2 separate regions of the Homo sapiens genome follow, and region 2 is linked to region 1. Evidence: promoter capture Hi-C in human tissues and cell types (Jung and others, 2019). All regions are on one chromosome and are shown on one strand. The core of a region is centred on a gene start or on the middle of the fragment in contact, and the rest is flanking DNA. Distances in the headings are between cores, read along the strand shown. Region 1 holds the start of VAC14 (VAC14 component of PIKFYVE complex). Region 2 overlaps IST1 (IST1 factor associated with ESCRT-III).

Region 1 (2,728 bases), core at 76-2,575:
TGCCCTATATAGCAGCCAATAGCTACATGTGGCTATTGAACACTTGAAATACGGGTAGTGTGACTGAGAAACTAAAGTTTAATCTTTAATAATTTAAATTTATAATAGCTACGCACGGCCAACGGCTACTCTACTGGACAGAACAGAAATACAATTCACCTTTTCTGACTCGCAGACTGGTATTCTTCCAGTTTCACAGCCTGCTTCTTTCCAATTTTCTGAAATCACTCACTCACTTGACTTTAACACTAAAATGTGACTGGGAAAAAACCCACAAAAGTAAAATAATACTGCAGAAAAAAAAATAAATAAAACATCCCCAGTTAAACTTTCGCTGTTTTGTACATTGGGAAATAAAGTAAAATATCAGATCATTGTTACACATACATGTAACAAGACTGCAGAAGCAAGAAAGGTCAAATTATTTCTACTTCCACTTGCAGGGAAGGGTGTTATAACACAGATAAAACAAAAAACTCTCTGAGCCTTGAGATCACGAGTTTTCCGACCTGATTTCTCTACTTGGTCACTAACAATCTCCTTCACTTCTCAGAAGCTGGGTAAGAAACCAGGCTGGTCAGCATCACCTGCAAATTCTCCGGCTTCTGACTTCTCTCTCACCACAGAGACAACTCTCTGATTTGCTGGTTTGGGTGGCACCGCACCGAAGACTCACCATGTGCCATGCACTGTGCAAAGCACTACCCATACATGATGTCACTTCATTCTCACTGCAGCCCTTTGTGGCACCGGGAGGTTAAAAAGCTGGGACCAAATCACACAGCCAGTCAGGAGTAAAGCAGGGACTCCCAGATATGGCTCCCAATCTGCTCTTAAACACTGCGCTAAGGTAAGGGCCTAAAACCTGGGAAAGTAACCCTGGCTGGGAAGGCGTGAGAAGTCCCCCTGGGGAGCAGAGCAGTCAGGGGCTGCATAGCCAGGGAGGGGTCCTGGCGGCTCTTACTTCTCGATCTCCAGCGCTGCCACCTTCCGCTTTTCGTACAGCTTGTCATTGAGGGCGCGCACGATGTTAGGCGTGAGCGGCGCGAAATCCTTCTCGGGGTTCATGGTGGCAGCTGGGGGAACCTCGCGACTCCTTAGCCCGCGGCTGCCGGGGCCGCGCCGGGGCCAGGGGAGTCTGCGGCTCCGCTCTGCCCCCGGCGCCGGCGCATGGACCACGCCGCTCTAGGCTTGCCTGCCACGCTCCGCCGCCTCGCCCTGGAACCCGGGCCCGGACCCCGCTCCAGCACACCTGACCCTGGCCGCTTAACAACTCCCGCCCGGCACTAGCGGGACTCACGAGACAGCGGCCATGTTACTCGAGTCACATGACTCTACAGCACTTCCGCCTTCCGTCGCGAGGGCCCGCCCCTCTCCAGCCACGCCCCCACCGCAGGCCGCAGGTGGATTGGCCACGCCCTCGGAAGGCTCCACCCACACTGCACACACTATCGCGCTGCGCGCCAGGTAGCTGGAGTGTGGTTTGAGACGTGCTTTAATGGGTGTGTAGCTCACGCCCAACTGATGGCACGTGGTGGGCTTCTGTAGACGTTCGTAAGACCGAATGGGTTCTTGGAGTCTGATTCACTTAACATAATTTATTCAATAGTCACCGAATTCACTAGTTCATTCAGTAGTTGGTCACTTACCAATTTCCTAGATGCAGACGTTTCCCTAACTGCAGTAACACTGTCATCACTTTCACCATATTCTAGCCACTTGTATTATCTATTTAATGTTTTCCTCAAATCAACTCACTTTAAAAAATACCTTAAATCTCTTTTAGCTTTGCTTATGCCCTAAAACCATGAGTTTGAATAGGTATATTTTTTCTAAGACACATCAAAATAAATTCTCAATTAAAAATGGCACTACCTGTCTACCACCTAAGATCTCAGGTACCACCAGTGTCTGTCACTCCACCATTTGGGGGTGTGTTTAACATGCTCTGATGCCTAGGAGGGCTGGTTACAGACAGAGAGAAAGGCCCCAGATCTGCTGAGTGCGGGTCTCTAGATAGGTCCCCTGGAAAGCAGCCCCTTCAGCTGCTTCGGGAATCACATTACATGGTGAGACAGAAATCCCAACTATGTGGCAAAATATTTAAAAGCAATTTATGGCCGGAGTGTGGTAAACATGCAGTTAACAGGGAGGTGCATCAGCCTTTCCTATCATAAGCTTTCAGAGTGAACAGGGACTTAGGACAAGGGCTAGATTACAGTGGAGCTCAAAGAATAACAGTTTCAGAATGCATGGTGATACTTTTCTTTAATGAATGAAAAGTGCATATATAGGCCTTATAACAGTCTTGAAAATGGAGTATTTTCCTCAACAGAAACAGGGACGCAATGAGTAAAGGGCAAAAGTAGGCAGAATTCTAGGATGACCTCCAATATTCCCACCCCTTCGTGTTCATGCCCTGTATTATGCCCTCTTTCAGCGTGAACAAGACTTGTAAATATGATGGGCTATGCATCACTCACATGATTATATTATGTAATATCGCAGAAGAGATTTTGCAGATGTAATTAAGGTCCCTAATCAGCAGACATTGAATTAATAAAAAGAGAGATTAACTTGAGTCGGCCTGACCGAATCAAGTGAGTACTTAAAAGAGATTAGAAGAAATTTGAACTGGAAGAGAGACTCTCCTGTAAGGAGTTTAGTCATATGGCCACAAAGGAATGAATTTTGCCAACACATTGAGGGTCCTTGGAAGCAGATCTTT
Region 2 (2,728 bases), core at 133-2,632, 1.1 Mb after region 1:
GTAAGTTGCAGTGAGCTCACTTCTGACTGCTTCATTTCCCGCAGCCATCCTGGGCCATGGGTGGTGAGTTCTGTTACTTGCTGCTTGGCAGCAGAGCTAGTTTGTCTCGTAGTATTCTTGCATTGTTAATCCTATCTTGACAGTGCCAAGATCCATAAGAACTTGGGACCAAGGGGATTTTGATTCCTAACTTACAGAATTAAAAACAAAGTATATTATAATTTTAAAGCTATGCCATGCAAAGATAAGTAGTAATACGCTAATAAATACTAAGCCAAGTAGGAGATAACAGGATTAAGGTAGTTCATCTAAAACTTCAGTGTCACTGCCCACTGCTGTCGTGGCTGCTTGCTCAGATGAGGTTTTTTGGGGCCAACTGATTCCTAACAAATTTGAGAGCTTCTGTAGCAGTGTATCTATTAGTGCAGCTTCTTTCTGAGTATTGAAGACAAAAAGAGAAAAGTGAGAAAATTGAAATTACTGCTAATAGTGGAGTAAAAAAAGTACCAAAGATTTTTAAAAAATTAGTAAATGTAAAGATACTATTTCTTTAATAATTTGCAGTCAGGCATTGGAGTGTTTCCACTAATGGTTGCGAGCCAACTATTTATAGGACAATGGCTATAGAATATTATGTAGTCTTATAAATTGGGTTTCCTAGGAAGATAGCTGGCAGAGCTTTTGAAACTAATAAAGGGAATATGATACTGTGCATTATAAATTATGTCAGCCCGTCATCTTAGGGGCAGTTACAGTGGAGCTTTCCCAGTGATATAACAGCATGCTAGTTTATCTTTTAGTTACCTACCTTAAGCGACTTTCTTTCTTTTCCAAAGGCCATGAGAATGGCCGAAACGAAAAGATTAATTACCACAAGTACCATCAAGATGACACTGGTGAGGATCAGAAAGGTGCCCAGGACTGGGTCTAAAGCGAAAACCTGGGAAAACAATAAGAACACTTGCAGTGACTGACAATTTAGTTTATACTTTACAAACATAAGCTATATGCTAGTGTTTGGGATCTTATCAGAAGAAAAGCTTATCCGAAGGAAACTTAGGGAGAGAGTCAAAAGATAATAAGAAGGAAAATACTTTTAAATGGACAGAAGAGCAGGAATGACTCATTTTAAGGAGGTTAAGATAATTGTGACTGCAGGGCTTTCACAAGAAAACAGGTGAGTTGCAGTGGAATTGGAAATGATTCAAATGTCACATGAGTTTTGGCAAAAAATACATCTAATCATGGAAGCTAAAAGTGGGAGGGGGGTAAGCAAACACTGAAAGATTAAATGCATACCAGAAATGAGAATGCACACTGTCTCTGCCATATCAAGAAACTACAACCCTAAACACAGGAGCATTCCAATAAAAGTTAACAGGTTGGCCACAGAAAACTGGCTTTTTAGTATTTTTTTTTTTCCATTGTCATTTTTAAAGGTACAAGCATTGAGTTCTGCCATTCTTTACTTTTCTGCATACATAAATATCAAGTTCTGGGCTTATTGGAATGGTTCCCATAACAAAAACTGTTGTTTAAAATTTAGATGTTCTTTTTCAACAAATGGTATTTATTTTCCCTTGGTATTGGCCCATTCATTGTTGCCACTAGGGCACTGTTTAAAAATATCCCAACAGAGGGGTTGATTACAGTCAATGCCACCCTGATGGAAATCTATATGGCAAAATATTTTCAAGCACCAAACTGTTTTACCTACTTAAAAATGATTATTATAACAATTTCAGGTCAACCAGATAATGTGGGCAATCTCTGAGTTTGTGATACAAGACTTATTTCCAATAAGTTTATTTTTATGTACAATTTTACTGTTTATTTTTTGTTTGCTCTATTTGTTTTTTAATGTTTTTTACTTTATGTTTACTGTATTTTTATGTACAATTACATCCAAAGCAGAAAAGTTCCTTTTTTATCCCCAAAAGGAGGTGTCAGCAAAAATTTGTTACTCTGATTACTTCCTTCACAGCTTTAGGATACGAAGTGCTGCAGTGGCAAAGGCTCATCCCCTAGTTATTGGAGCTAGAACCACAACAGAACACAGCCTAGTCAGCCAAAACAGCAGTTACAGTTGTCCCTTAGTATCTGAGAGAGATTGGCGCCAGGGCCCCCACAGGTACCAAAATCTGAGGATGCTTAAGTCCCTTATTTTTATTTTTTAATTGCAAGCTTCCCTAAAGGTTAAGAAAGTGTCTTCTCCCCCACTTTTTTTTTTTTTTTTTTTTTTTGAAATGGTCTTGCTCTCACCCCGGCTGGAGTGCAGTGGCGTGATCTTGGCTCACTGCAACCTCCACCTCCCAGGTTCAAGCGATTCTCCTCAGTCAGTCTCCTGAGTGGCTGGGATTACAGGTTCCCACCACCATGCCTGGCTAATTTTTGTATTTTAGTAGAGACGGGATTTTACCATGTTGGCCAGGCTGGTCTTGAACTCCTGACCTCAAGTGATCAGCCCCACCTTGGCCTTCTAGAGTGCTGGGATTACAGGCGTGAGCTACTGTGCCCGGCTCAAAGTCCCTTTTTAAAAATGGCACAGTATTTGCATAAACCCTATATACATCTCTCTTATACTTGAAATAAACTTTAGATTACCTCTAGTACTTTATAGTGGAACTGCTACGTAAAATAGTTGTTACACCGGTTTGTGGTTTTTTGTGGGAGACAGTCTCGCTCAGAGGGCAGTGGGATGATCATAGCTCATTGCATCCTCACTCCT

Evidence for each region. Contacts are between HindIII fragments. The study calls those that stand out against the background at their distance.
Region 2: a fragment that was not itself captured here is called in contact with the fragment with the promoter of VAC14 in region 1 in 1 of the 25 tissues and cell types used here (aorta).

Annotation. Positions count from the first base shown.
Region 1 is chr16:70,799,833-70,802,560 of GRCh38, forward strand. It overlaps VAC14 (VAC14 component of PIKFYVE complex), which reads right to left and starts at 1,326. Exons shown (of 19, transcript NM_018052.5): 1 at 965-1,326. The coding sequence starts at 1,068. It overlaps HYDIN (HYDIN axonemal central pair apparatus protein), which reads right to left. Exons shown (of 86, transcript NM_001270974.2): 86 at 2,252-2,728. RefSeq lists enhancers at 1,012-1,634, 1,302-1,361 and a silencer at 1,032-1,221. The HindIII fragment of the contact is 10,557 bases long and covers 1-2,728 here.
Region 2 is chr16:71,929,244-71,931,971 of GRCh38, forward strand. IST1 (IST1 factor associated with ESCRT-III) reads left to right here. Exons shown (of 10, transcript NM_001270975.2): 10 at 1-1,956. PKD1L3 (polycystin 1 like 3, transient receptor potential channel interacting) reads right to left here. Exons shown (of 30, transcript NM_181536.2): 29 at 809-940; 30 at 295-435. The coding sequence ends at 295. Among named protein-coding and RNA genes, the nearest start is that of IST1, 35 kb to the left of the region's middle. The HindIII fragment of the contact is 3,323 bases long and covers 1-2,728 here.